Linked DNA regions of Homo sapiens: regions 2, 3, 4, 5 and 6 are each linked to region 1. The links are contacts of gene promoters, found by promoter capture Hi-C in blood cells and fetal thymus (Javierre and others, 2016). All regions are on one chromosome and are shown on one strand. The core of a region is centred on a gene start or on the middle of the fragment in contact, and the rest is flanking DNA. Distances in the headings are between cores, read along the strand shown.

What was found. The method cuts DNA at HindIII sites, captures the fragments that hold promoters and counts their contacts. A CHiCAGO score of 5 or more calls a contact.
Region 2: a contact is called between a fragment that was not itself captured here and the fragment with the promoter of FHIT in region 1, in 1 of 17 cell types (non-activated CD4 T cells). The highest score is 8.4, in non-activated CD4 T cells.
Region 3: a contact is called between the fragment with the promoter of PSMD6 here and the fragment with the promoter of FHIT in region 1, in 1 of 17 cell types (total B cells). The highest score is 6.9, in total B cells.
Region 4: a fragment that was not itself captured here is called in contact with the fragment with the promoter of FHIT in region 1 in 4 of 17 cell types (non-activated CD4 T cells, total CD8 T cells, naive CD8 T cells and 1 more); the score reaches 6.8 in non-activated CD4 T cells.
Region 5: a contact is called between a fragment that was not itself captured here and the fragment with the promoter of FHIT in region 1, in 2 of 17 cell types (total CD4 T cells and naive CD8 T cells). The highest score is 9.3, in total CD4 T cells.
Region 6: a contact is called between a fragment that was not itself captured here and the fragment with the promoter of FHIT in region 1, in 3 of 17 cell types (naive CD4 T cells, naive CD8 T cells and total CD4 T cells). The highest score is 6.6, in naive CD4 T cells.

Annotation. Positions count from the first base shown.
Region 1 is chr3:61,248,357-61,253,353 of GRCh38, forward strand. It overlaps FHIT (fragile histidine triad diadenosine triphosphatase), which reads right to left and starts at 3,096. Exons shown (of 10, transcript NM_002012.4): 1 at 2,945-3,096. LOC124909387 (a long non-coding RNA gene) reads left to right here and starts at 3,236. Exons shown (of 2, transcript XR_007095939.1): 1 at 3,236-3,271. RefSeq lists enhancers at 1,685-1,964, 2,245-2,374, 2,515-2,644, 2,775-2,834, 2,899-3,193. The HindIII fragment of the contact is 4,935 bases long and covers 1-4,415 here.
Region 2 is chr3:58,300,459-58,305,455 of GRCh38, forward strand. No RefSeq gene overlaps it. Among named protein-coding and RNA genes, the nearest start is that of RPP14, 3.3 kb to the right of the region's middle. The HindIII fragment of the contact is 2,909 bases long and covers 848-3,756 here.
Region 3 is chr3:64,020,571-64,025,567 of GRCh38, forward strand. PSMD6 (proteasome 26S subunit, non-ATPase 6) reads right to left here and starts at 2,924. Exons shown (of 8, transcript NM_014814.3): 1 at 2,705-2,924; 2 at 1,748-1,953. The coding sequence starts at 2,849. It overlaps LOC105377121 (a long non-coding RNA gene), which reads left to right and starts at 3,505. Exons shown (of 3, transcript XR_940906.3): 1 at 3,505-3,581; 2 at 4,055-4,172. RefSeq lists enhancers at 2,226-2,848, 2,533-2,882, 2,849-3,470 and a silencer at 3,033-3,132. The HindIII fragment of the contact is 6,204 bases long and covers 140-4,997 here.
Region 4 is chr3:58,490,589-58,495,585 of GRCh38, forward strand. KCTD6 (potassium channel tetramerization domain containing 6) reads left to right here and starts at 1,508. Exons shown (of 3, transcript NM_001128214.2): 1 at 1,508-1,581. RefSeq lists a silencer at 1,159-1,808. The HindIII fragment of the contact is 482 bases long and covers 2,036-2,517 here.
Region 5 is chr3:59,038,471-59,043,467 of GRCh38, forward strand. CFAP20DC (CFAP20 domain containing) reads right to left here. Exons shown (of 17, transcript NM_001394063.1): 4 at 1,087-1,159. Among named protein-coding and RNA genes, the nearest start is that of CFAP20DC, 9.1 kb to the right of the region's middle. The HindIII fragment of the contact is 1,212 bases long and covers 2,401-3,612 here.
Region 6 is chr3:59,203,057-59,208,053 of GRCh38, forward strand. The region is part of intron 4 of CFAP20DC-DT (CFAP20DC divergent transcript); the gene reads left to right. Among named protein-coding and RNA genes, the nearest start is that of CFAP20DC-DT, 120 kb to the left of the region's middle. The HindIII fragment of the contact is 2,070 bases long and covers 1,882-3,951 here.

The DNA of each region.
Region 1 (4,997 bases), core at 1,846-4,345:
TCAGGAATGTTTAGCCAATAATTCATAAAACTGTTACTTTATTACCTAACTATATGGAAATCATCTTTCAGAAGAGACCAGAGTTACCTGCCTTATTATCTGTGAATACATAATTGAAAGGGCCAATATGTCTTCCAAAATGAAAGTCACAACTTGATAGATTTCTGAGAGTTCATATTAGAGGGTCAGATTTTAACATGTGAATGCAAACATAGTGTCAGAATTTGTTCTCAAGTGTCTGAAAGAACAAAAGAGAAAAGAGTAATGGGAGCCAAAACCAGACTAACTTCCAAAATAGAAACAGAGCATGTTGAAGTTGCATAAACACACAAATAAAGATGGGGACACAAAAACATTTCCTAAAGCATTCTATCAAAGGCTGCAGGAAAAAGGCCAAGACAAGGATACCAAATAGAAAAGCATAAGCCTAAAAAGGTTATCCACACTACTGTGAGGACTCCAGAAACCTGCCTTCTTGCAGAAACGGGATACTTTTGACATGAGGGCATGAGATGAAGATTGCAGACTACTTCGTAACACACTCTCCTCATTTATAAAATAAGAGTTAGATTAGATTATTTATAAGGTCCTTCCAGTCTGAATGCATTAAGTCCTTATCATCTATGTGGTCCTTGCACCTTAAGAGAGATGACCATATAAAGAAGCTCAAAAAACATTTGTTGAATTCATGAAGTATTACAACCTTACCAATAATAAATAAGATAATTTATAACAATTGGTCCTGGTCTGTGGCCTTGAAAGAGCAAATTAGAGGAGAAACCATTATCTAAAGAGCTACACATCTGGTGTTCCTGCTAGCTGACTGCTGGTGGAATGAAAATAACCCTGGACTTGAAAATAAGATGCTTGGTTCTAGTCTAATCTCTGACACAAACCAACTGTGTGACCTTGGGCAAACTGCTTTACCACCTGGGCCAGTTTCCTAATCTCTAAAATAAAGGTATTCTAAAACTATATACATATATATATGGAATCTTTATTATAGGCCAAGAAGTGTTCCAAGATCTTTGCATTAGAATTAAATGATCTCAAAGGTTTTTGCAGCTCAAATGTTTAGTATCTAAGTACAGAGGCAGCATGGTATAATTAAAAGATTCCAAATTCTGTAGCCAGAAAGGTTGGACTCCTCCTCAGCTCTGTAAGGTAAGGTCTTTCTCTAAGCAGAGACTGTTAAGCAGAAGGGCTTACAGTCTCAGTCCTTTTATTCACCAGTGTTTTAACTTGAACAAGTTACTTAACTTTCCTAGCCTTAGTTTTCTAATCTGTAAAGTTGATATAAAAATGGTTCTCACTCTCATATAGCTTTTAAGAGGATTAAATTATAACACATATATTTTATTGAATATATATTATATTGCTAGCTGTGTAATCATGGGCTATCTTCTCAAGTTTTTTCTCATATACAAATGGGAAATGTAGTATTAAAAAGAGATCATGTGAACAGGTTCTAAATGGTCAAGTGTTAGTGGTTTTGGAAGCATGTACGTTAATACTTGGAACACCGTATACAACAATCCCATATCTAACACTTAGAACAGCATATGCAATCAATAACAACACACACACACACACACACACACACACACACACACACACACACACACACACACACAAACCCTAGACTTCTTTCTTTACTAAATATTTCTAGTCCAGGTTGCAGCAGGTGGACACAGGCCGGCAGCCATGAACGCAGGTCCACATGGGAGTTGTAGTTCCGAGTCAAGCGGCTGCTCTACAGAACGGCTAGAAGCGAGACTTCGTCTCCCAGGAGACATCTCGCCGTGCAAAATGGCACGCCACGAGGTGGAGTACCTGCCCGACGAGAAACAAGAGGCGGGACTGCAACTCCCAGAAGCCTCCGCGGCCAAGGCCTCAGGCCGCAGGCTGAAGCCAAGGAGGGAGAGTTCAGGTAGATCCGGCTTAACATCAGGTGCGAGTAGGGACCACCCTTGGTAGTCTGGGCCCGGCCCAGGTCAGAACCTTACTAAAACAACCACTGTGAGTATTTTCTATTGGTCCCAGCACATTTCTGAGAGACCAGAATAATAATAGCAGTAAATCTGCAAGTGGTAAACTTTCACAAGCATAACCTCAATTTAGATTTCGGCTTCAGGCAACATCCTTTGGCCACTTGACCTGGGAGCATTGAGCTCCTTGTTTCCCAGATAAGCGCTGTGAGTGGCTGTTCCAAGGTAACACAGCGAGGGCAGAATGTGAGCCTACAGAGAAATCTGCAGATGCATCTCAAGTTCCACTAACCTGCCTCCTTACCCCCCACCACCACCAACTTGGATATACCTTTAAAATTCCCCCCTTTGACGCTAAAAATAAAAACAACAACCATAAAATAAGTGTAAGAAAGTCCGACCAAGTACCGATGAGTTCTCCCACAACAATAAATTCGATGCCTCTTTGCCTGTTTTTGAAGTAGTAATGTAAAATTATCTCCCAAAATGCTGCCTTCTCTATACTCCGGTTTGCTCCTGTCCTGGGCACGTGTTCAGCAACCCCTTAGGGGAATCCAGAGCTGCGTGTTTAACACAGACCTGTTGGGACGGATTTTCGCTACTTGTCTATGAAACTGACGAACCATCCCAAAACGGCGGGTGCCGACTACACCCCCAGAGCCAAGAGCTGTGGCGTCCCCGGACCCGCTGGCGTGGCCCCGTGCCTCAGTTTCCCCAATGTATAAACACGGTGGAGGAGGAACGGGTTAGGGCTAGGGTCGGTGCTTGGGAATTGGGGGGCCCGAGTCCCCACCCTGAGACCCTCGTGGGGCGGAAGAGTACTCGGGACAGAAGCCCACCGCCCCGTGAGCGGCGCCGGCCCCACTGGGCTCCGGGGTGATGACCTGACGCGCGTGGAAACCCAGACCCGCGCCCCAGAAACAGTATTCCACTTGGGCTTGCCTCCCCGCCCCTACCTTCCAGGATGTTGACAGCTGGGAATGAAAGGCAGAGGGAGGGAGCGCGGGGCCGGAGCGCCGCCTGGGAGTGTGCCCACTGGGTGGCCGCCTGAGGGACCCGGGAACAGAGGGCAAAAAGTCCTGTGACCGGACAGAGCAGAGCGGGGACTGCAATTCCCAGAAGACCCCACGGTAGGGGCGGGACCCAAGATGGCCGCTTGTCTGGGGACAGGAGCGGAGGCCAATACGCGCAGAGCATGCGCCTACGCCGGGCCAATTGAAAGCCATAGTGACAGTAACCCTGATTCAGGGGCGGGAAACACTGACCACAGAAGACAAGTTGAGGTGAGAATCCCCTTACAAGGGGGTTTGGGGCATAAATCGCACAATCTTTGGCTTTTTCTAACTAGAAAAAGAAACATGATTCTTTTCACGTGTAACGAAAGGCTGTACCGCACTTTTGCTTTTTTCTTTCCTCCCAAAACGCGTTTAACTATCCCTTCACGACTTCCCACTGGCTGGATTTCTTTTCGTTTCATTTCCCCACTCTGGATCTTTCTGGATTCCTTAAGCCTTCTTTTCTTTATGTGTCTCTCAGAAACACAGACTTGCAGTCCCTGGCTTGATCCATCAAATAATGTGGTCATTTACGACTACGCTCAGCCCTCCCTGGCATCCTAACAAAATTGCACCACATGCGCCCCTTCTCTTTTCCTTTCTGTCTTTTCTGTGCTGTTTTTCTCCTTAGCATTTGTCGTTACGAAGCATTGTATAAAATTTACGTATTTATCTTTTTTACCATCTTACTTTCTCACTAGAATGCAAGATCCCTGCAGATGTGGATTTTTGTTTTGGTCACTGTAGTCTTTCTAGCACCTAGAAAAGTGCCCAGCACATAGTAAATACACCGTATTTTCAATAATTGAACGAAATCTAGAGTGACCTTTCTCCCCTAGTCTCCCTTTCTCTGGTGCAGATCAACCCGTTTCTGACCACCATGGTTCCTTGTGCTTGTTCCCCTGTTTAATCCAAAATCATTATTGATGTATTCTGTGCCAAATGCCATGTGGGTGCTGGAGAAATCATTGATTCAGACCCAATTCCTAACCTCAAAATGCTCTGTCTAGTGACGTATGAAAAGTAAAATTAATTTTACAATAAATGCAATTACAAATTGCAGAACACCTACGTAATTTTCACAAGGTCATGCAGCTCCTAAGCAAGGACTAGATTCCTGGCTGCAGACTCTTGCCATTACATCGGGAAAAACAAAGAGCAGTTTTCTCTCAGACAAACACTAAGATAGGTCCCCATTTTCCTTAGCACCATTTCCTTTCTCTGTCTCTCACTTTTTTATTTGGCCTGATTCATTACATGCAGGCAATTACATCAAGTCTTAGATCTCTCATTATTTCTAATATTTGAATCCCATGGAGAGTAGCAAGGTGTCCTACAAAGTGTCCTGGTGTGAAAATCTGATGTCCTTGGAAGCTTGACTCTCAGAGAATGTCACATTGGATTATAGTTCATCACACAGACACCATGGCCACATAAAATATTATCAAATTGTGAATAACAAAGTGAAATTGAAAAAAAAAATATAGTTAAAACAGCAGGAATGTGAGCAATATATGTACAGACTGATTTTGTGCATAGAGATTAAAACACCTGTTCAGGCTTCCTAGCCTAATCTTCTGTCAATTTGGGGTCATTTCCTGTAATACAATTCTTTGTTGCTTTTATGAGCACAGACTTAGCTCAGCAGTCCCAGCTATTCTCAAGCTGATCGACATGAGAGATTTCAACACATGTGTCAGCAGCCAGACTAAACGTGGAAGAAAATCAGAAGCATTTGAAACTGTAAAGCTCAATAACTTTCCTCCTCCTGAGAAAGCATCAGCCTATAATCATTACATCTTCTACTTAGCAGTCAAAAGGCAAATGTCATGAACATACTCAGGGTCTAAACAGTGGTGTCTAATGATTATTGCACTGTTGTCAGATAGCCTAATATGAGCACATAGGTATTACTTCAGCTGTGGATAATGCTGACTGCTGGGCTCAAGGTCAC
Region 2 (4,997 bases), core at 1,052-3,551, 2.9 Mb before region 1:
TCATCTGAGGTCGGGAGTTAAAGACCAGCCTGACCAACATGGAGAAACCCTGTCTCTACTAAAAATGCAAAATTAGGCCAGGCGCAGTGGCTCACTCCTGTAATCCCAGCACTTTGGGAGGCCGAGGCAGGCAGGTCATCTGAGGTTGGGAGTTAAAGACCAGCCTGACCAACATGGAGAAACCCTGTCTCTACTAAAAATGCAAAATTAGCCAGGCGTGGTGGCGCATGCCTGTAATCCCAGCTACTCTGGAGGCTGAGGCAGGAGAATTGCTTGAACCCAGGAGGTGGAGGTGGAGGTGAGCAGAGATCGGGCCATTGCACTCCAGTCTGGGCAACAAGAGCGAAACTCCGACTCAAACAAAACAAAACAAAACGAAAAACAAAAAACAAATTAGCCCCGTGTGATGGTGCATGCCTGTAATCCCAGTTACTTGGGAGGCTGAGGCAGGAGAATAGCTTGAACCTGGGAGACAGAAGTTGCAGTGAGCTGAGATTGTGCCATTGCACTCCAGCCTGGGCAACAAGAACAAAACTCTGTCTCAAAAAAAAAAATCAAACAAAAAGATTGCTGAAAAAATGAAAGTCTCTTACACCCTCTGCACAGCCCCACCCTTCCCCCATCAGTCAGTCCACTGGGATTTCTGTGCATTTGCACACATACATACGGGTAAGAACTCCTGGGTTCAAGCAATCCTCCTGCCTCAGCCTCCAAAAGCACTGTGATTACAGACATGAGCCGCCGTGCCTGGCCTATCCTATATTTTTATTTGCTAAATCTGGCAACCCTATAGGTAGCAGCCAATGACACCTATAGAAGGCTTGGCCCCCTTGCCTCAAAGCCTAGAAGCTTCCTTAGTATCATTTATGCTCCAGGACTCCCCATGGGATCCAGCTGAGGCTAGACTCAGCTGAATCTGTTACTGAAACACCAAGTGTTGCTTCTAGGTCCTGCTGCTCACCAAAGAGAAAGCTAATCACTGAAACAATGAATATTGCCAGGGAAGAAGGCTTTCTTTGAGAGCTGCTGCTGTGGACATGGGAGATCAGTCTCAAATCCATCTCCCTGACTGACTAAAATTAGGAGTTTATACAGCAGAAATATAACAAATGCAGGAAAACAGGAATCAGGGAAGGATAAGGAAGGGGAGTTGGTCAACAGAAAGCAGGTCGTGGGAGACAGGCAGTCATGAAGGGTGAAGGGTCTGGACTGTCATTGTCCAAATGCAGTGATCTGGTGAGTTTCAGCTCCTTGATACTACCTGGGAAGCCTCATGGTTGGTTTACTGAGAAAGGAACTCAGATAAGACAAATGTAACTTCTCAAATTTTAAGATGAGAAGGTCAATCTCTACATATACTCAAAAGAAACCGTAAGCATCAGTTCTGTGGGATGATTGGACCGGTTTCAAATCCACATCTTTGCTTGGCTTCTTCTCCTGCCCTATCTTGCTTCCCTCCTCCCTTACAGATTTCACTTGGGGGCCATCTCCCAGTAAATCACTTCCGTGAGGGTCTCTCTCTCAGGCTTGGCTTCTAGGGATTCTAAAGCACTGCCTGCTTTTCAGAGTTTCTTGTTTGGAGATGACGCTTGAGTTGATGACACTTGAGTTGCCTCAAAGGAGCAGCTCCCAGACTGGTCTTCCACATGGGAGGGATGGAATGCAGCTTTTTAGGCTCTGGAGCCTCTCACCACCTTAGATAAATGACTTAGCTTCATTTTCTTCATCTGTGAAAAGTGGTAATTATAGTGACATTGCATGGTTGATGGAATAATGTGAGCAAGTTAGCTGGTACTTGGCAAATCTCCCTAAACTATGTGATCTTATTCTCGAAACAGAAACAATGGCTACAGTTCCATAGGTTTTAACTTCTGATCATTTTCACTTCCTTTGTCCTATCTCCACAATCTGCTGACATAGGGGGTGTTTTCCATTAAATCAATGGAGAACAGGGGGACTGGAATCTCACTTGGACCCTTCTCTCTTGCCTTTTCTTCCCCAAGTTGAGAAAGCTCCTCAGCTTTAGAAAAATCCATTTGGCACCAATAAGTAAGGCAGGGAGGGGAGCCACACAGCAGAGGGGAAGTGTGGACTTAACTCATTCTTGGCTGCCGTACCTTTCAGGGACATAAAATAGAGACCGACCCCAACAACTTTGCTCTGAAACACAGAGGGTACCTGAAATGGTCCTCTTAAGAACTAACTGGCTCCACCCAATGCAGTACAGGGTAACTTTCATAAAGACTGAGGCAGCTAACCTGGGCAACATAGCAAGATCCCCTCTCTAAAAATAAAAATCAAAAAAATTAGCCAGGTGTGGTGACACATGCCTGTAGTCCCAGCTCCTCTGGAGGCTGAGGCAGGAGGATCACTTGAGCCCAGGAGTTTGAGGCTGCAGTGACCTATGTTTGCACCACTGTACTCCAGCCTGGACCACAGAGTAAGACCCTGTCTCCAAAAAAAAAAAGAAAAAAAGACTGAGGCAGCCTTGTGTGTTTTGATTTGGAGCAATTTTAGATACATCGTCAAGAGGTAAAAGCCCCCATATCATATTTTTCAGGGGACACTTAAGAAACTCATACTAGTTGTTGCTCCTGGAGAGGGGAGAGGCTGACAGGGGAAGAGGTGGAAGGGAGACTCACTTTTTAATATCTATCCCTTTATGTCATTTGAAATGTATGCTGTAAGCCTACAGTACCTATTCAGAAGATAAAATTTAGGCATGGTGCAGTGCCTCACACCTGTAATCCCAGCATTTTGGGAGGCCAACGCAGAAGGATCGCTTGAGCCTAGGAGTTCAAGACCAGCCTGAGCAACATGGTGAGACCCTGTTTCTACAAAAAAATTAAAAATTAGCTGGCCATGGTGGCATGCACCTGTAGTCCCAGCTACTTGGGAGGCTGGGGTGGGAGGATCGGTTGAGCCTGGGAGGTTGAGGCTACAGTGACCCATGATCACATTATTGTACTACAGTCTGGGTGACAGTGAGACACTGTCCAAAAACGATTTTTTAATATAAAATTTAGTTGAAAAACAAAAGTTTTTTTTTGTTTTTTGTTTTGTTTTGTTTGTTGGCAGAGTCTCGCTCTGTCATCTCGGCTAGAGTGCAGTGGCGTGATCTCAGCTTACTGCAACCTCTGCCTCCTGGGTTCAAGCAATTCTCCTGCCTCAGCCTCCCGAGTAGCTGGGATTACAGGTGCGCACCATCACACCCAGCTAATTTTTGTATTTTTAGTAGAGACAGGGTTTCGCCATGTTGGCCAGGCTGGTCTTGAACTCCTGACCTCAGGTGTTCTGCCCACCTCGGCCTCCTAAAGTGCTGGATTACAGGCCTGAGCCACAACACCCAGCCAAAAAACAAGTTTTTTGTCTTTATCATTCAAAGGCATCTCTTTTATCCTCCGCTCTGAATTAATAAGACAGCATGAGAGAATTCAGGCAACTGGGAAGACACTTCATTTTCAGGGTTTGTTGCAGCAGGGTGAAAATTATCTATTGTTCCTTGAAGTTCAAAATACAGGAATTGCTCTGGTTTTCCTGGGCCACCTGGCAGGATACATTTGCCAGGCAGCTGGCTTACAGGAACCCTCTCCCATTACTGAGGGTTTCCTGGGGTGCCAGACACTTTATACCATCAACTCTTTTTCCCTCAACTCTGTGAGGTAGATGCTAATAATCTCTCCATGTGACAGATGAGGGAGGTAGGTAAGTGGCAGAGGATGCATTTGAAGCAAGTTCTGGCAGCTTCTGAAATCAAGCTTTTTTGAGAAAGATAATACTTGGGTCTGTGGGGTCTGTGTTTGCTTTCTCCACCTCTTCCCACATCTGGAACAAGCCCTGTCTCCTCTGAAGGAAGAAGAAAGTAGGAACCACAGAACTGGAGAGCATGGCCAAGGTTGAGGACTGAAGCTTCTGGAAACAACACAGTGGGATTTTGAGAAAATAATTGAGGAAGGAGATCCCCGCTGACTCAACTGTCCTGTGCAAGGCAACCCTTTGCCCCCCAACCCAAGCAAAACCAGCACATCCATTTATGAACAAATGCCTTCAGTAAATAGATGTTGGGTCACCATTGGGTACCAGGAACTGGGATGCAGTGGTGAGAAACACAGACAAGGCCCCATCCTCATGGGGGTTACACTAAAGTTTCCCTTCCCACTGCAGCCCCTCAATTGGTGGTAATACAGTGCAGTATGGAGAGCACTGGCTAGAATCAGACAGCCCATGCCACTGCTTATAACTGTGATCTTGAGCAAATAACTTAGCCTCTCTGTGCCTCAGTTTCTTTTCCTGTTGCCAGGCTAGAGTGCAGTGGTGTGATCTCGGCTTACTGCAACCTCTACCTCCCAGGTTCAAGCAATTCTCCTGCTTCAGCCTCCCGAGTAACTGGGATTACAGGTGTGCACCACCGTGCCCAGCTAATTTTTGTATTTTCAGTAGAGATGGGGGTCTCACCATGCTGGCCAGGCTGGTCTCGAATTCCTGGCCTCAAGTGATCTGCCCGCCTCAGCCTCCCAAAGTGCTGGAATTACAGGCATGAGCCACTGCGCCTGGCCTGTGCCTCAGTTTCTACCTCTAAAATGGTGATGATCATAGTAATAGCCATCTCAGGATTGTGTGAGGGTTCCATGAGATGACATATGTAAAATATTTTGCATAGTGCCTAGCACAAAGTAAGTCTTTACTTTGTGGGTCTTTCCAGGACGGCCTAGATAGAACACCTACTATGTGCTGGGAGTCACAAGGGACACTGAGAGTGGGTCCTATCTTTGGGGAGTGCTTGACATAGGAGATCTTGAGGAGAGGAGATGCTAGATATAATTTTGTAGGCTGGGCGCGGTGGCTCACGTCTGTAATCCCAACACTTTGGGAGGCGAGGTGGGTGGATTGCCTGAAGTCAGGAGTTTGAGACCTGCTTGGCTAACATAGTGAAACCCTGTCTCTACTAAAAATACAAAAATTAGGCCAGGCGCGGTGGCTCACGCCTGTAATCCCAA
Region 3 (4,997 bases), core at 1,674-4,173, 2.8 Mb after region 1:
TCTAAACTTTTCTGTATTTTCCAAATTTTTACAATGACCACGTCTTAAGTTTACAACCAGAAAAGAGAAAAAAACCTCGTTTTAGATATACATTGCAAAACAACATTTAGGCACTTACTATGTGCTAGGTACCAGTCTAAGCTTTTTCCTATCCTTAATCCACATTAAGTAAAAACTATCAGTACTCCTGTTTTACACATGAGGAAACCGAGGGTTTCATAAATCATAATTACCGAGGTTGAAAACAGAACCCAGACAATCTGATTCAAGAGCTCATGTTATTTTTATTTTTTATATTGGCACCATGTCATTCTATACCTAAATACTTCCAGGCAAATAATTTAAAATTAAAAACATTCAAAGCCCATTTTCTTAACCACTATTACACAGTTACTCAATTAAATTTCAAAGATCCAGTAATGGTGAGTACCCCTCTGGTGCCCTGATGGTGGAGTAAGCTGGCTGCTATGCAGAACAACTGGCCACACATATTTAAAAAAAAGAAGAAAAAAAAAAACTGTTCATTGTCCCGGCGATTTTGTTTCATATACTATACCCTAGAGAAACACTAGCATATACACACAGAGACATACATAAGCATATTTTTACAGCAGCAGTTTGCTAAAGCAAAAACAGATGAAAACAACACATATGTCCAACAACAGCTGAACAGGCAAATAAACTATGCCAGAGCTAGCTCTACAGTGGAACATTAGGCAGCAGTTAACCAGGATGAGCCAGATTTATGTATGTTGGCATGGAAAAGACCTCTTAAATATAATGCTGAATGAAAAGGGCAAACAGGACTACACTAATACACTATGATCCTATGTACTTAAAAAAAAAATTCTGTAGAATTAAAAATTTCTGCAAGTATTAACTTTTTTAAAAATTGGTTCTTTCATTGAGCATTTATATTCTTTTACATATAAAATTTTACGTAAAAAAGATTTTATGACCGGGTGCACTGGCTCACGCCTATAATCCCAGCACTTTCGGAGGCCGAGACAGGTGGATCACCTGAGGTCAGGAGTTCGAGACTAGCCTGGCCAACATGTTGAAATCCAGTCTCTACTAATAATACAAAAAAATTAGCTGGGTGTGGTGGCGCACGCCTGTAATCTCAACTACTCGGGAGGCTGAGGGAGGAGAATCGATTGAACCCAGCAGGTGGAGGTTGCAGTGAGCCAAGATCACTCCATTGTACTCCAGCCTGGGTGGCAAGAGTGAAACTCCGTCTCAAAAAAAAAAAAAAAATTACCAAAAAGTTTGCATAAATGCACAATAAAAGAACTGAAAAGCCTATCCCTGGGCAGGTACAGAGTAAAGAAAGATAACAGAACTTCAGCATTTACTATACTGTTTCTTAGTTTCTGCTAAGTATTACTCGTGTAAAGTACTAAAGACACCAGAACCAGTGCTTCCCAACCAAGTGAGAAAACTGCTGAAAATGATCCCAATTTTGTAAAAGCAGTAAATAAAATTCTCTAGATGTACACTTACGTTTTTATCGGCATGGGGTGAAATGGGGAAGAATACAGCCCTAGCTGCTGTTTGGGGAAATGACAAGGCATTTCATGGAGACGACTTTTTCATCTTTACATTGATTCACCAGTACAAGCAAGCATGATTACCTTTATACTTTTTCTAAAACGAAGTTAATTTTTTTAATGAGAAACGATTACCTGGAATAGTCTCCAATTTTAGCCTATACTAACTACAGAGAGGGAAAACCATCTCTACTCACTTTGTCACCTATCCGGCAGAGGTACTCGGCCTTTGCCATCATTGCATCGCGAATTTCGCTCTCTCCTAGATTCTTCTCTGCATCTTCCAGCTCCTCATCCAAACGCTTCAACTCATCTTCATTTGCCTTCTTCATTTTATTGAGTAGGTCCACGTCTATCTGCCAGTCGAGGGATTTGCACAAGGCTTCATAGTAAGGAGCCATGTCTAACATGCAAAAAGAGGGATGTGTGAGTGGGGACACTTGTGCCCTCAAGTCAAAGTCTGCCCACGTATTTCACCCCCCGCCCCGCCACAAGTCATCCACCAGTCTCTTCCCCACTAACAGGAAGGCATGCGATGGCGCTTAATAATCGGCTTGGCAAAACATAAACGTATGCTGGTGGGAGGTTTGCGTGACGGCCAATCCTGGCAATGCCAACCTCTACTAGGGCTGGAGGGAGGGCAATCCTCGGTTTGCTCTTGCCGGATTCTGTTCCAAAAGTCTTCAAACAGGGAAAGACTTTTTATACACACATACTCACATACATATGTTCAAACATACACATTCACTACAGAAGGGCCAGAAAGAACCGAACCCAAATTTCCCTTCCACAGGCAAGCTGAACTCTCCCACAGGAATACCCCGCGCCCGGGAGCAGTCCCCACTGACAGAAAGTCACGGGGCCTTTACTCTGTGCCTAGCACAGGGGTAAATATTAATGCCTCACGATTCTCCCCCAAGCTGCCCTTACAGGGGAAGGCGGCACAGAGAGATGCAGACCCCGCTGAGGCAAGTCGAGGTCCCCCAGGGTATCCCCAAACCAAAGCAAAACCCTAAGGGCCGGAGAAGCCAGGCCTGGTCTCTGAGACCCCGTCAGAGGGGTCTGGAGCTCCATCAAAAAAAGTCCCCGCAGGCTCCGGAACGCGGGGACGGCCCAGGCCTAGGCCGCTGACTCGGCGCTCGTGCGGGCCTCACTGTTATCGCGGACGGCCGCCATCAGCTCGTCGCGCACGGCAGCGTCTCCGCGGTGCTCGGGCAGGCTGAGCAGGAAGCGCAGCTGCGCGATACGCAAGTCGGGGTTCTTGGGCAGACCCTCCTCCTCCAGGTTCTCCAGCGGCATCGCGGCGAAGGGGACAGCGGCTGACAGGACACAACTTGGTTACGACCGGCTGCGGCAGCGGAAGCGGGAGGAGTCGGCGAATACGCCCGGCCGCCTGCGGCCCGGCTTCCGGTCCCGTCTCCGCCGGCAGCGTCCTCTGCTGGACACCTCCGGGAACGCCTCACCCGGCCTGGGCGCCTGCGCCCCTGTGTGGTCACGGGGGCTTTTCCACCCTCAAGGCCCCCTGCGGAGTCCCAGAGTGGGTGCAGCCCAACTCAAAAGCCCAATTTCTTGAATCTCTTTCTCACTCCCTTTTTAGCTATTTTACTTTCCGTTTGTAACTGATGGGAGCTTAAAATTTTTTGAAAACTGAAAATGTAATAACAGCATTAATAAAAACAATCACCATAGTTTGTCGAGTCGTTACTCTCATTCATCTTATTAAAATCATCTTCATGCTGCGAGGTAGTACTATTAGCCTATTTAGTAGGTAAGACAAATGAGGCACAAAGAGGTTAGGGAAACAGACCAACCAAGGTCATGTAACAGCCATGTCGCAAGGCCTAAATGAAAACCCCTATCTAGAACTCTAAAATCCACATTCTTTCTGCGGTTTTAAGAAGAAAAAAAAACTGCACCCAGGATTCTACGTCATAGTACAACAGCATCATCGTTTTGTTTACACATAAATTAAATCATTACATGCCTGCATTTTCAGCTTCCTTTTGTTCACATTGCTACAGATCTTCAGAGGTGGTAATCTTTACATTAAATTCCTTTTTTTTTTGAAACGGAGTCTTGCCCTGTCACCCAGGCTGGAGTGCAGTGGCACAATCTTGGCTCACTGCAACCTCTGCCTCCCAGCTTCAATCGATTCTCCTGCCTCAGCCTCCCAAGTAGCTGGGATTACAGGCCTGCACCACCATGCCGGGCTAATTTTTGTATTTTTAGTAGAGACGGGGTTTCACCATGTTGGCCAGGCTGGTCTTGACCTTCTGACCTCAAGTGATTCCCCCGCCTCAGTCGTCCAAAGTGCTGGGATTACAGGTGTGGGCCACCATGCCTGGCCTAAATTCCATCTAATGGATTTACCATAATTTACTTTCACTCTTCCCTCTGTTAGAGGTGTCTTTAGGTTGACCAGAGTTTTTACTTACCTAATATAAAAACTTGGATGAAGACTTTGGATGTCTAGATCACTTCATGTTTTGCATCTTTTTCCTTAGCATAAAATCCCATGAAGGAATAACGGACAAAGGGAAGAAGGATTTTGTGACTTGGGGATATTTAATGTTAAATGGTTTTCCAAAAGAGCTGAACCAGTTTACACAGCTGCTGAAACAGGTGAGACTGCCACATCTCACAGGCAGTAGGCATCATCACATAATTTAAATCTATTATTTGTTTCTATAAAAATGAAACAAGCATTTTGAAGACAACTCAAATGATAGAGAAAATATGAAGAGTAAAAAAAAAATACTATTAAATAGCTCTCCACCACTGCTAAACTTTTGGTAAAAAACTTTCTAAAATTCTTTCATTTAGTCATTCAACAAACATGATTGCATGGTTACAAAGTACCAGGCACTGTCTTAGGCCTCAAGGACTCAGCAGTGAAGAGCACAAAGCCCTGTCTTTGGAACTTACATTCCAGAGAAGCATAGCTTCTTTAAAACTCATCTGGGTATATTAACATGATCATTCTATACTCGCACATTTTAAACTGTGTTTTATTCATTCTACCATGTATTGTGGATATCTTGGATGACAATGGATTGACCATATAGGATTCCATTATATTTATTTCTGTTTGTTTGTTATTTTTGAGACGGATCTCACTCTGTTTGAGACGGATCTCAGGCTGGAGTACAGTGGGGTGATCTTGGCTCACTGCAACCTCCATCTCCCGGGTTCAAGCGATTCTCCTGCCTTGGCCTCCTGAGTAGCTAGGATTACAGGCACGTGCCACCAAGCCTGGCTAATTTTTGTATTTTTAGTAGAGACGGGGTTTCACCATATTGGCCAGGCTGGTCTCGAATTCCTGACCTCAGGAGATCCGCCCACCTCAGCCTCCCAAAATGCTGGGATTACAGGTGTGAGCCACCACACCCGGCCCATTATATTTCTATACCAACTTTTTCTTCATCAGTCCTTAAGTGCTGGTTGATT
Region 4 (4,997 bases), core at 1,027-3,526, 2.8 Mb before region 1:
TCATGAAAATTCAGAAGAACGTTATGAAGTAATGCCATTAACATTCCCATACTGTTATCTTGAACACGATGGTCAATGGTTTGATGTATTTCCTTCAAAATTTTTGTCTGTATATATTTATGTTTTTAAAAATAAAATCAGGATATCATGTGTACTAGTTTGTGTATTGATCATTTTCACACACATTTCCCTGTATTCTCACCTAGTCTTTGTGAATTTGATAATGTAGCACTCAGTTATGTTGATGAAGCATATGTCATTTATTTAACCTATCAATTTGAGCTTTTGGAGACAAATCAAGTATCAGATATAACTGTGATGATCATGCTGATACAATTTCAACCCCAGAGCTAGCTCACACACATGCAGACGTGAAACCCAAGTGAGTTTCTAAGGCCAGTGGTTATTCTGGTGGAGAAGGTTAAACCCAGCATCAGGTAACTGGTCCCACCGGAAGGGGACAGTGGCCTGGCTAGCAGGAAGTGAATGGACTTGGAACGAGTGGACGGATGGAGACCAATTAGCCCTGAGGCGTTAGGTGCTGCCCATCCTCTGCAGCCTTGGCTTCCTTCCTGGTGAAGTGGGGACAATACCAGCGCCAGTCTCATCTAGGGTCGAGCTCCTCCAGGCCCCAGAGCCTTTGCATGGGTCGTTTTGTCTGCTGAAGGTAGCTCTGCCCTTCTCTCCACCTGGCTGCCCGTGTTGCTGAGCTTCTGGGCCCAGCAGCCCTTTGCTGTCTTGCCCGTCAGGCCGGACCAGACCGTCTTGCCCCGGTGGCCCCGGGGGCTTCTTCACAGGCCTCATCGCAGGGTTGTCTCCCCAATGCAGGGCAGGCAGGAGGAGCTCTGGCCGCAGGTCGGGGTCCAGGTCTTCCTCGGCCACTGCGTTTGGAGCAGGGGCTCCCTTCCCTTCTTCTCCATCTAAGTCCTCTAATCATGTCCCTCCCAACACTTACGGCCATAACTTGTCATTATTTTGTCTATTAGCTGTTTCCTTGAGTCTTGTCTGTCTTCTCCTTTGATTAGGACCCGCCTCCGTCTTGGTGGCCGCTGTATCTCCTAAACCCCCAGGCCTGAGATATAGTGGGGGGCCCATACAAGTTCGTGAAATGACTAAGGAGAAACAGCTGTGGAGGCACCACCCCTGAGGACGCAGTGGGCCTGGGGTTGGGCGGACCCCAGGCTGCGGGCGGAGGCGGGACGTAGGGGCGGGGTTTCGGGGCTTCGGAGCGGAGCCTAAGGGGCGGGACTGGGGCTTCGGGGCGGGGCTTCGGGGCTGCGGTCGTGTGGTCTTGACCGCGCGGCTCCGACTGCGCTGGCTGAGTTCCTCAGGCCGCCCGCTCTCTGGCTTCCAGCCCGCGCTGCCGTTAGGGGGCGCCCGCGCTCGTGGCGCCGCGGCTCTGCTGGGAAGGCGCCGCCCGCGCCGGGCAGCTGGAGCCGCAACTCCGGGCGCGGGCTCAGTCGTCCCCTCTGCCGCCGCCGCCGCCGCCGTCGCCGGGCGCGGGCTCGCTTGTCCCCGCGCTCGCGCTCTCCGGCCGCGGGCATCTCCCGGCCCGGCCGCAGCAGCCGCCGCCGCCGCGCAGTGAGTGGGGCTGGCGCGGGGCTTGCGGGGCCGGGGTTTGGGAGGGCCGGGTTTCAGGAGACGTCTGCGCCGAGCGGCCAGGGGAGCGGGGCTGAGGAGGATCTGGGCGGGGGCTCCTGGAACGGGGCGGCGGCGGGGCCGCGTTGAGGGGACCGCGCGTCCCGGGCTGGCACGAGCCAGCAGCGGAGGTGCCCGCGGCGGGGCCTGGGCGGGGGTTCCGGGGCCCGCCCGGCGGGGATGCGCGGTTTCTGCGGGCCCGGGTTCGGAGCCCCGCGGCGCGCCCCTCGTCCGGGCCCGGAGCATCGCCCGCCCTACCCCTGGCCGGGTCGGGTTGCGGGGGCTTCGCTGGCGGGGCAGCAGCGAAGGGCGGCCCGGACGGAGATATTTGGGGTGTGCTCGAAAATGATTGTTTTTGGGAGATGGCGCTTATTAGCCACCAATTGCCCTAGTTTAAAGCTTGAGGCAGGACTCAAAACCCTGCCTTTGGGATTTTCTGCCCTGAAGAGACTCTCAGATCGCAGCTGAGTTCTTTATGCCTAGATTTGTGTGTGTGTGGTGGCGTTTTTAATGCTTGATGTCAGAGGTGATAAATGGCCATGGTAATGGGGAGCCCTGGCAGCACCTGCTGGGCTGACAGTGGTGGAGGCTGTGTCTGGGGGTGGGACGGGGAAATGAAACGTGACAGAGATCCTGTTTGGATATTCTGCCGAAGTTACCATGTTTCTGTTCAAGTATACCAGTTCTAGAACAAGTTGATGGATCCAATTTTAGGACTTTGTGATAGAAGAGGTTTGGGTGGCAAAGTGACCTGGGATGACCCGGCTCGGCTAAGAATATTTGGGGTAGCCTAAGTATCTCTTCTATATCCCCCTGGCATGTTCTTTTTTTCGCTGTCACAAATGCCCTATTACTTGAATCATCCTGGGATAGGAGAGAAGCTTGGGGACAGCATGTAGCACAGTCCTGAGCCCAAGATTGAGATGTTTTCAAATGAACGAATATGTAGCTAGGAAAAGGAAAATGTGTTTGTCAGCAGGGTTGGTAGGTTGAGAGTATTTTCTCTTTGGCCGAAACCATCAGTCCATACTGATACTTGATTTTGTGCTATGCCTTAGATATGAACGATGGAGTGGTCAGGATAGCCATGGATGCCATTCCAAAGTTTTGTGATTTGAATTTTCATAAATCATATTTTAACCAAAGCATTACTACTTAAAGGAATCTTAGGGTGAACCCTATGAATCCTTCAGTGCGCTTGGATTTTGATATTTGGGGTCCATTTAAAATGGAGTACCTGTATGTATTTGGATTCAGCTTTAACTTGGAGATAATCCCGAGTCATGCTTTAAAGAAGTTCCTTCTGAGATCAGGAGCTCAGGTGTTTGGTGAACTCTGGGAAAACTAGACACTCCCCTTTACCTGTATATAGTTCTCCCTTCTGGAGCTCTGGGAAAAGGAGGACCTGGGGAGATTTGAAGCAAATTAAGAGGCTGCCTCCTCCATATTTGCCGTCTCCAGGCCAATGCTCTAAATTACTTGTGTTCACACTCAAGTTTCTCATGTTAACCTAGAAATTTTGTTTATGCTGCTGCCACTAATGTTTTCACATTTGTCTAATACTTGCTAGTTTACAGATGGTTTTATATTCATGATCTCCCTTATTTTCTCCATTTCCCCAAAGAAGAAGCTGGGCATAAAGAGTGATTTTCTCAGGGTCTCATAATCAGTAACGGAGCAGAATTCAACTACAGGACCTCCCTGGGAACCTGTTCTCTTTCCTTGTCCTGATGTGTTACTCTTATAGGCCAATTTTTGCCTTTGTGTTGTGCCTAAATGGTGTAATTACCCCGTTTTGGGAAGGTGGTATTATCCCGTTTTATCTTGCGGAAACTGAGGGTTAAGAGGAATGTTATGATTTTGTGACTATTTGTGACAGCTTTTTAATATTAGGTCACTTTTAAACCTATAGCTTCTCTCTTCTAGACCACATGGTTGAGAAAGGAGAAAGAGAAAATGATTACTTGTAGAGAAAAATCCATTTCTGCAGTGGTATGGTTAAGGATAATCTAACCATAATCACATTATCCTTGTATGCCTGGCTACTTATGCTGGCCTGTATGTGAATGTTAACCCCAAAGACTCCTTTAGATGTCGCTGAACTAGTTACTATAAAAAGTATTTCGCTTTCAAACTCCCACATTTCAAGAAGAGCAAAACTCAATACAAGGCAATTTTGAAGGTAAGTATAGAAAGAGGGAGTTTATTGAGTCTTTTCTGACTACCAGACACGAAGGTTTCAGTAAAAAAGCATTTTTAAAGGGCTGCCTGGAAACTCTGGGAAGTCAGTAGTTGGAGTTTTTTATTATTCGTTGGAGGTTTTTATTGCAACATATAGGTAGTTATATAGGATTAGGACTTTTGCCCCGGAGAATTCTTAATCTATAGCAGGAATGATAAACCCAGAATATTTTTGTTAAGTTAGTTCATCATAACCATTAGGCCTGTAATTGCAATTCTGCAGTGATAGGGAGAATGGCATTTAAGGGTTCTTAGGTTATTTTTTTAAGTTATTAACTTACTGAATTATGTATGCATTTCTTCAGATATGCTACTTTAGAAAATTAATACTTCCTTTTAAGGTTTCTATAAATTCTTCAGTATGTGTTTTCTTAAGCTTAATTACCTGCTAACATGACACTGTCAGAATTTATACATTAGTCACAATAACCTTTGAAGCTTAAACATGGTTGAATTTTCAGCACTGCTTTATATTCTTTGGGGAGTGGGCAGTGTTGTTTTCACAAGAATTTTATTTGCATCAAAGGTTACATCTTTTCAGGTGAACTGATTTTTCAGGGTCAGAGGCTTCTTTGAATTTTATAGCTGTTTGTGCTCGGTTGCATTTGCTGTCTTTCAAAACCATCTTTAGTTTTAGTAAGGAAAGTCACTATAAAGGAAAAATTTTTTATTGTTACCATTCCTGGTAGATTTTCTGAAATATTAGATATTTCTTTGCTTTCATCAAGTAAAATAGGCCTATTTGATACCCATTTCAAGATCTTCCTTCTGCTGCCTGTCTTGTGGTCATTTAACTTCTCATTAAGCCCTCCACTGGAGACTGTGCCAGAAGGGAGAGAAGATGAAAAGCAAATGAATCATTTTCTAATTGTTAGTAGCTCTGGAAAATGATTCAGTAGAAGAGATTGAAACTATTCTGGAAATTCTTTGGGATTGTATTTCATTCATCTGCATCGTTTCAGAGATGTTCCTAATGGTCGTCAATTCAGAATTCAGAAGCCGATCATTATCCAGCTATTGGATAACAGGGAATTTTTCATGCTTTTTTTTTGTTTGTTTGTTTCTTGCTGTATTTAAGCATCTCCACAGAAGATATTTAGAAGCAGGTAGAGATAAAA
Region 5 (4,997 bases), core at 1,757-4,256, 2.2 Mb before region 1:
GAGCTTTGCTTTATTGCACTTTGCAGATATTATGTTTGTTACAAATTGAAGGTTTGTAGCAACCCTGTGTCAAGAAATCTATCAGTGCCATTTTTATAACAGCATGTGCTCACTTTGTGTCTGTAGGTCACATTTTTGTAATTCCTGCAATATTTCAAACTTTTTCAGTATTATTTATCTGTTAGGGTGACCTATGATAGTGATCTTTCATGTTGTAATTGTTTTGGGGTGCCATGAACAAACCCCATATAAGATGGTGAACTTGATTAATAAATATTGTGTGTTTGATGGCTTCACTGAAAAAAAATCATCTTTTACTTAGTAAAAGCAGTATAGAATCATCTTCCTTAATAAGAAAAATCATTTATTCTGGCATGGAAAATAAAAACCTAAGCTCAGACCTTGGACAGCTATTAATTACAAAGAAGAATAAGAAAATAGCATACCTTAAATGTAATGGTTAATTTAAAGTATATAAATTTATTAATAAAATCTTCAACAATACTCAATTCTATGCAAGCGTACCAATCAAATGTTATTTTCATTCTCAATAACATCTCACATAATAGATAGCTCAACTGAGTAAAGGTTGTATATTTTCATTTTTGCTAAACAATCTCCATTTAAAACAAATATATTGCTAGCTGCTATATGTAAATAGGAAGGAGTAATACTTCTAGACAAAGTAAATATTATTAAAATAAGATATTTCAATCAATTTTTGACCAACCATAGTTTTGAATAGCAGACCGTACAAAACATAACATCGCCCTTCATTCAAACCAAAATCTCAAACTTTTGGATTATATATTTCTTCAAGTTATAGGTCATTTATTGTCAAAATAATAATCCTTTGATATTTTCTTAAACAGATGAAATTTGCTTTCTTTTCCTAGGGAAATGCCAGACTATAGTGATATCCAAGAAATATGATTAAATTAGTTTAATTACTTGATGTTGACTTGATGTAAGTCACTGCTCTTTAATGCAAAAACTGTCACTTGCAATTAATGATTGTTGGTACTGCTTCAATTGATCAAATGTCTAATACACACAAAACATTCAAAGAAGTTCTGTATATCTTACAGCAATTCAGTGGAGAAGTCTTGTCCCAGGGGTACGTAAATCTGAAGTACAAGAAACCTCTGGATCAATCCAACTAGAATGAAGAGGAAATACACATTCAAATGTTCGAAGCATTTATATGTGCATATAAACAAACACAATCACAAACCACGAACAAGCTGAAGATTTTAGCATTTCAGTAATACATAGAACTGCAAATAGCACTACCTATGAGTTACAACCTCATTACGAAAGCAAAAAAAATTGATGAAAATAAAATCAAACTTACAACAAATGTCTTTTAAAGTTCCATCTGTGGCCTTCGTGAAATTTTTATTAAAATTTCAAAAATAATAAGTTTTTATTATTTTTATTAGGTTGCAAGAGAATGTACACATAGAACTGCATTCAACAGAGACATATAAAATTGAACTATAAATTCCATTCAAGGCAGCCATAAAAGCATGTGGCAATTATTTTTATTCACTGGCAGTTTTAACTGTACTAAACAACTTAATAAAAAACAATAGATCAAGAAAACAATTCTAATTATGACAACTACAACTGAAGGTTTGATGAGCCATAGCTAATTCATATGGTTTTAAATGTGTCCACAATGAGATGAATAGAGGATCATATTTTCATTTAAACCTTTTGTTAATTAACATATATTTAATTAATTTAATGTTCACTGAGAACTGATAGCTTTTATTCCCTATTACTAGCTTCATCTGGATTAAAAATATTTGCAGAGAAACCAGTCCCTACAGCATTTTTGACAGCTAAATTCTACAACTGCTTAAAAAATCAATTGATTTTATATTACCTCTCCAGATCTGTTCACTTAATGCCTTTCCTCTTAGGTTTTGAACTTTTGCTTGATCTCTCAATTATGGTGCTCTTAACAGATGTTTTTAGTATGACACTTCCTAAAACATGCAATTTACAAACATATTTTCCTGCTGTGGGACTTTTTGGGTAGAAAATGGAGATGTCTTGATTTATCTGTGAACCTCTCCTACAAAGCCAATAGTACAGACCAACACGTGGATTAAAGACAAAAAAAAGGCAACTAGTCTAAAACTCATGCTATTTTATATTATTCCAACTTAGTACGCTTAACAAATTAAGGGATTTTAAAGTAACAACACGTTTTTGGATAGTCTATATAAAGAACTTCTGGTATATGATTCCCATTTTGCAACATTCCTGAACAACTTATAACAGTTCCTATGTTTTATCCCAGATTTACATTCTAAACAATAAACATATTTGATCAAATATGCATAACATTTTTATCAAACATACAGGGATAACCTTTACTTAAAAGTACTAAGCTTCTGCTTAGTACTCTCCAGAGGGCCATCAGTAGTGTAAGCAATGTAACAGAAATAAGAGATCACAGGCCTTGATCCTAGAAAATTCTCTAGAAATCTGACTTTACCATATTTATGGGAAAAGCCAGTGAGGCAAGCAGAGCTCTGGTCTACAAAAGCAAAGTGAGATACCAAAATGAGGCCAACTTAAATAAACCATCCTCAATGAATCTCTCTTGCATCTTGCATTGATTGGCCCCACAGTATTTTTCCATTGCACAATGGCCTCTGTAAATAGAGCTGAGAGAACAGCAGGATAAGTGAAATCAGTCTTTAAAAAAGGTCCCTAATTTATGTCACAAATCTCACTGAATCAGCACTGTTCTCTTCAAACACAAAGAGTTACACACATAGGGCATTTTTATATGAGCATTTTTAGATATAAAAGAGTTCTTACCCTCAAAAAAAGAAAGTTTTGTAATTCAACTTTCTCACATATAGAAGCCCCAGTTTCCAAAACGTTTCACTTCTAAGATTAAAAGAAATATTATGATACCATATGGTGATGATCTGACAAAAAAAAAGTACTTTAATAACATTTGACACAGACTGATCCTGTGTGTCAGATGCTAAATAAATTCTATAGTAACATTTTTTTCCAGTGGCTTAGTATATTTAAACTGACTATTCATGTCTACATTATATTTAAAATCACTCTCTCTAAGTAATGTTGAATGTGGAAATTCTGTTAGTCAAAAATGTCCATCAAGTACATAAAATTCATAAAAATTTAGTTTCTTCCTGAAATATGCAGCTTTTTACAGTTTTATAATCTGTTGTCTGTCAGAAACAAACTACCTACTTTTTTTCTCCCACTTCAACACACAAAACAGGAATTAGTTATCTGTTCATCATGGGCTATTCCATATCCCTTGAGCAAATTAGAAAACCTGTGTGGGCCCTTTTACTTTTCATCTGTAAAAACTGGGTTAATAGTTTAGATTTACAACTCATAGGATTATTTATATGGATTAAATTAGGTCTACCATGCAACGAAGATTACTGAGCACCTACTACGTACAAGACTCAATGCTGAAGTTTTTGCAGTAAATAAGACATACATGCTCTCTGACCTTTTAGAATTTATATTCTAGCTCCATGAAGGAGAAAGTCAGGGTGCTATGAAAGCATATAACCCTGGGTCCTTGCAGGAGAAGAGGATGATTAGTGAAGCTTTTCTTGAAGGACAAGCATTGAAACTCAGCTGGGATGAATACACAGGAATTGACTGGGCAAGCGGGATGGGTGTAGGAGAGAGGAACAAACGTTGCTGGCAGAGGGAGTACTCCATCCTATGATGGAAAAGGATGGAGTAGATTGGATAAACCTAAAAAGGGCTTAATGGGCTGATAGGAGAGACAGAAGAGGAAATGCAGCAGGAGACGGGTTTGGCAAAGTAGAGAGGAAACCAATTATGTGGGGTCTTGAAGACCATGTGAAGAATATAAGTCATCCTAAAATCAATGGTAAACCCCTCGTACATTAATTCATTTATTCGACAAAGATTTACTGAATGTCTATTCTCGGGGGTAAATGCTGTAGGTAGAGGGTACAGTCTGTGCATGGGTGCCAAGGTGATAGTGCACTGGACTATGTTTCAAAACAGCAATGGGACCTGTATGGTTGCAAAAGCACGAACGAGAAAAAGAGTAATAGGAAATAGGTCAGAACTAAGAAGGGCACCAGATACTGCAGAGTCCTGTAGGTTTTTGAGTTTTAATCTGAGAGAGATGGGACATTTTTAGTGGAGGAGTAACATTACTTATGTGTTTCTTACAATTTAAAAGTATTACTCTGGCTGCTAATTTGACAATAGACTGTAATACAGAGGCCAAGTCAGAAACAGGGAGACCAATTAGGTTACTACAATAATCCAAGCATGAGATACTGGTGGCTTTGGCCAGTAGCACTGGAGGTACCAAGAAGTGATCAGACTCTCAACCTATTTTAAACATAGTGCCAACAAGACCTTCCAGATAGACTGAATGAAGAGAAAGAAAAATCAAAGCTGATTTAAAAGCTTTTTTTCTAAGCAACTGAAAAGATAAGTTGCTAACAGCAGAAATGGGGCAGCCTGCAGGAGAAGGAATTTCGAGGAGTAAAGACCAGAAGTTAGGCTTTGGACATATTGTATTTCAGCTGTCCAAGCGTAGAAATGTCAAGTAAGTAAGATGATATTCAAGAAGTCTAGAGTTAGGAGAGAAGTCTGAGCTGGAAATGTAAGCTAGAGTAAGACAGAGATGGCATTTAAATCCATGAGCTGGAAGCTGATAACCAAGGGAGTAAGTGTAGATAGAGTGCCAACGACTGAGTCCAGGGACGCTGCAACATTAATTCAAGTTGGGGAAAAGAGGAAGAACCACAAAAGGAGGCTAAGAAAGAAGAACAGTGAAATGGGAAGAAAACTAGGAGTATGGACATCTTGGGTATGAGTGAGGAAAATATAAGAAGGAGGTGTCAACTTTCTCAAATGATGCTAATATGTGAAGTAAGATGAGGGCTGAGAACTGTCCACCGGATTCAGGAAAATAGAGGCAGATCAAAGCCACTGAGGGG
Region 6 (4,997 bases), core at 1,667-4,166, 2.0 Mb before region 1:
GCTGGTTGCTGTGTATGAAAATTATAGAGACAATTTATATCTGGATCATATCTTACTTTAGAGAGGATTTCTATTCGTTTCTAGCAGGTGGGTAGCATAGGAACATATTAATTTAATCCGTTCATGAGTTGAGTAGATTCAAAACTGGGGTTCAGTTTCTGTGAGGGCTGCTCTGTTTAGAGTTCATACCCCTAGTTACAGCACTTCAAGGGTAACAACTTAAAACCCAGGTTTTCACTTGAGCCTCTTCTCCTGTATGAACTCAATCCCCTCTTCACCCCCTCTCCCAAGCCTGGTGAAATTTCAGTATACTCTCAGCTCTACAGCCTTTCAGACACTACTTTCTGCACAGTTTTTCTCATCTCAGTTGTTCCTTAAAAATTTGCAAATGCCTCAAAGGGAAAAGCGGTGTCAAATACCAGTTCAATATTCTGGGTTTCTCCTCTCTCTAAGATCTTGGCCCTATAAATCCTATTTGAGCAGCTCTCTGATGTCTTTGACAGGTGTTTGCTTCCTTGTTTTAATTTTCTTCAGCCTTACTAATGGTTAATAGCAGTAAGTTTCATTTCAAATAAGCTACTCTGCCATTTTTGGGAAGGGAAAAGTCAGCACTGCTTAGATTTCTATGTTGTTCCCATTTCTGTTATTTTCTCATACTTTTATCTCTGTTTGATGGTAAAGAAAACAGAAATAGAAATTTTGCTTCAGGTTAAATTCCTAGTTAACGACCCAGCTGAATTAAGAATCCAGTTTTTGGACTACTGATACAGAATCTATTGCTTTCATCTGATATACACAGTAGAAATACTTCAGTCTTATCAGGAATCATATTCTTTTGATATTGCAGATTCTGCTTAGAAGAAGCATTCTTTTCCATCTATAAATATTTAAATTCTATTTATGCTGGCAAGCATGCTAGATTTTGTTTGGGCTCAAAAATTTTAAGTAATCCACACATATTGGGTACTTAGTTGGTCAGATATAGTGCCATGGATTTTATGTGCATCAACTCATTCAGTCCTCACGGCGACGCTCTCAGGTTAGATATTTTATCATCTTAATTTTGAGACAAGGAAGCTGTGTTTCAGAGAGGTTCATTAATTTGCCCAAGTCACACTATTAGTAGTGACAGAACAAGCACTTGAACCTGTGTGATGCAGCAGAATGAAGAGTGATATTTGGAGTCAGACAGACCAAGCCTAATATTCTGGCATTGTCGCTGATTAGCTGTGTGACTTGGAGCAAGGTCCTCTCTGAGTCATAGTGTCTTTTTTTTTTTTTTTTTTTTTTTTTTTTTTTTTGAGACGGAGTCTCGCTCTGTCGCCCAGGCTGGAGTGCAGTGGCGTGATCTCGGCTCACTGCAAGCTCCGCCTCCCGGGTTCACGCCATTCTCCTGCCTCAGCCTCCCGAGTAGCTGGGACTACAGGCGCCCGCTACCACGCCCGGCTAATTTTTTTTTGTATTTTTAGTAGAGACGGGGTTTCACCGTGTTAGCCAGGATGGTCTCGATCTCCTGACCTCGTGATCCGCCCGCCTCGGCCTCCCAAAGTGCTGGGATTACAGGCGTGAGCCACCGCGCCCGGCCCATAGTGTCTTAATTTAGTAATGATGAGACTTCAGTAACAATGCAGTGAAGAGAAAATAAAACAATGTATGTGAGCACACTTGGTATATGTGAGGCACTAAGTAACTACTAGAACCCTTTCATCCTTCCTGAACAAGGAACATTCCAAAAGAACTTTATATAAAACACTTGCAAAAATAAGATATATTTAACACAGCAACTCTGAGTGGTATTCTGTGCAGGTAGAGATGTGAAAACCACGTATCAGAGAAATTCACACTTGCCTCCAATTACACAGCTAACATGTAGAACAGATAAGCTTTGCTGATTGCAGTGTGCCTAGATTAACATCATATGTACATCCTCAAAATGGAGTTTGTATAAATTAGTTAATATTTCAAATGCACAAAACGAATCTGCTATTTAAAGGATCCCTGCAGTGAATGCTTTTGTAAAGTCAGGAATAATTCTGGAAACGTAAGTTATATCCTGCTAATTCATCTGTTTTATACATTCGGCTTTTAATGTTTTCTTAAAGTTAGTCGTATCTGATATTGACTTTACCATCCTCAAAATGTCTTTCTGTTGATAAGATATTGTTACTTCATTTCTAGAATCTAATTAAAGTTGATAGTACTCTAAGGGACAGCGAATGTCAAAATCCACCAGGGTTAATTATTTTGAATGTCTTTTAAAAGTAAAGGAACATAAAAAATCAATGAAACTGTGGTAGTAGAATTAAATTTTCCTGAGACTGTTTTCCCCAAACATATGATTTATTTGAACATTTGAATGTCTTGTTCAAGAGAGACATTTAGCCTATAGCAAATGTCCCCAACAGGACGCTGCTATGGTCACATATATTAGTTCAGCTGCCCTCCGTGCACAGGTAGGGCGGTCTTCTGGTCAGGCAGGTGTTTTGGGATATTCCTTGACTTTCATAAGAGGATGCTAACTCTCTCTGCCTGCATCCAGTTGACTAGAAGATTTATCTTCCAGGCTCCTGGAAGAGGACATACGCTCAAATTCCCCATTACCCTGGTCTTACCAAGCTCAGTGGCTTAACTATACTCACACTTATGAATGCCCAAAGGGTCTCTGTTCCATCCATTTTTCAAGATCAGTAGCGTCCAGGCTTTCTGCTCACAGAGAAGCAGAGGAAAGCATGGATGGTGCAACACACTTGCATGGCTGAGGGTGCTGGCTGTGTGTAATCTGTGGCACAGCGAGTAGGTGTCAATCTTGAAGTGCTGGCTGGAAATCCACCCCTTTCACTGACACTCACCTGCAGCCATCCATTGTATTGAGAACACCATCATTAAAATGATTGTATCTAAACTTTTACCATTTTATTCTTGGATGTTGCTGATCTTGCAGGACTGCATGGTTTTGACCCTTCATAAAATCACTCCCTTTGAATTGCTCTTTGGTGTTGGACCATAAGCCTACGTTGAGGAACTTTAAAGGAATAACCATGAGAAATGTACTATGTAGTCTAGGATGTTCAGTGGTGTGCAATCTGGTTGCTAAGCCATTATTAACAAATAAATTATATGAAGTTACCATTAAATACATTATATCAAAAAGAAAGTTAATAAATATGTAAAATGCATCACTTCCTAATTATTTGACTACATTTTACTCTTAACTATGCTCTTGAGGTTGTTCATGACTATTGTATTAGTGTGAAGGAAATGTTATATAAAGTAAGCCACTGTCCAACTGCAAGTTCAGAGGTGTCATGTTGGTAGCATGAAATTGGCCAAGGTTGAAGTATTCACACTATAGTGCATCGAATCAGCACCCTGCCCCACACCCCAAAACCCAGTTGTGAAATATCTAACAGCTCACTACTGTATGTTATTGAAGATATTATGTTACAGCGATTAAGAGAATCTATGGAAGAGATTCCCCTTAGGGCTCAAAAGCAAATAAAGATGTACTTCTCTTCAGGTACGTGCTTATTTTTATTTTTAGAACCTCATGCTTATTGCTAACAGTTATGTTTCATCTTCATGTTCACTGCTAAGTAGCTCAGAACCAAATCTTCAGCACCTTTTACAAAAAGAAATGTGTTCCAGGAACCTTCTTATTTCCTTCTTGTTGTTTTTATTTAGCCTCTTCCTTCCTTCCTTCCTTCCTTCCTTCCCCTCCTGTCCTTCCTTTCCTTCTGTTTCCTTTCTCTCTCTTTCTCTTTTCTTTTTCTCTTTCTTTGGTTCTATGTTGTTGCATTAATGGATTTCTTTTAGCTATCTCTAAACATGTTAAGAATGATGTGGGGGTATAAAAATAAGAAGTATACTTTAATGTGTGCAAATACTCTTAACAGTAATGGATTATTAAGACTTCCTACCTTATTTATAGATTTTATCTTGATATAATATTTAAGCTTTCTTCCTGCTTTAATATGAAAAAATGTATGAAGTTAGAATATAATTTAGAACGGCATATATGCTTCATTTATTAAGGGCCTGTGAAAAAATTCTTGGAGAGAAGAGTAGTTCACTTATACGTATTTATTATCTTTCATCCTTCTCTTGAATGTAAGTTCCAAGAGGACATGGTGTATCTTAAAGTGTTTAAGCTACATCTCACTGAGTTCAATGAGTATTTTTGAATGAATAAATAAATAATTCACAAATTTTCTAATGCTCAATGGTTATGAATATCATTCAGTTTTTAATGATGATATTATACAACATACATACACACATGTTTAAGAACTTTCATTCCATACTTATCACATCCATTTAGGCTCTGTTTCTCTAAATTTTAATTCTTCAATTAAACATTCATTGCTAATGATATTTTTTCATTAGTTCTTTATAGAAATATGGTCACACATAAAAAGAAGCAACATGGCATCTTCTACCCATGTGGAAAGACCAATTATCCTAAACTAAGTCTGAAGTTTAATACCTCTGCATTCCTTAGATGGTTCTCCTGAATCTTTTACTATAATTCTACTGCTTTATTTTTTTCTTGTACTGAGAAAAGAGAACTAACATTTATTGAATGCTTACTTTGTGATAAATGCTTGCTGTGTATTATTAACTGACACAACAATCCAGTGAAGCAGGTCCTACTATTGTCCCCTTTTCAATAGGCAAAGTAACTGGAGCTCAAAGAGATTATGTCACTTTCCGATGTCACAGCTCCCAGTGATGGAGCTTGGCTCTAAAGCCACAGGGTGGCTGTCTGCCCCTCTCAACTCAACTCTGGATCACTGCCTCCCACCCATCGCTCCTTCACCTCTGCCTCGTCTTCACCTTTCACAGGTCTCCCTTAGACACTACTTTTATTATTTTATTTGGTTGGTAAATGAGTGTTTCCAGTTATTCGACAGGAATGCCAAGCTAAGCAGCTTGGTGTTCAGTGAGTGGGAAACGATTGGGGTTTTTGAGCAGAGGATGGTCATCCAGGAAGTAGGGAG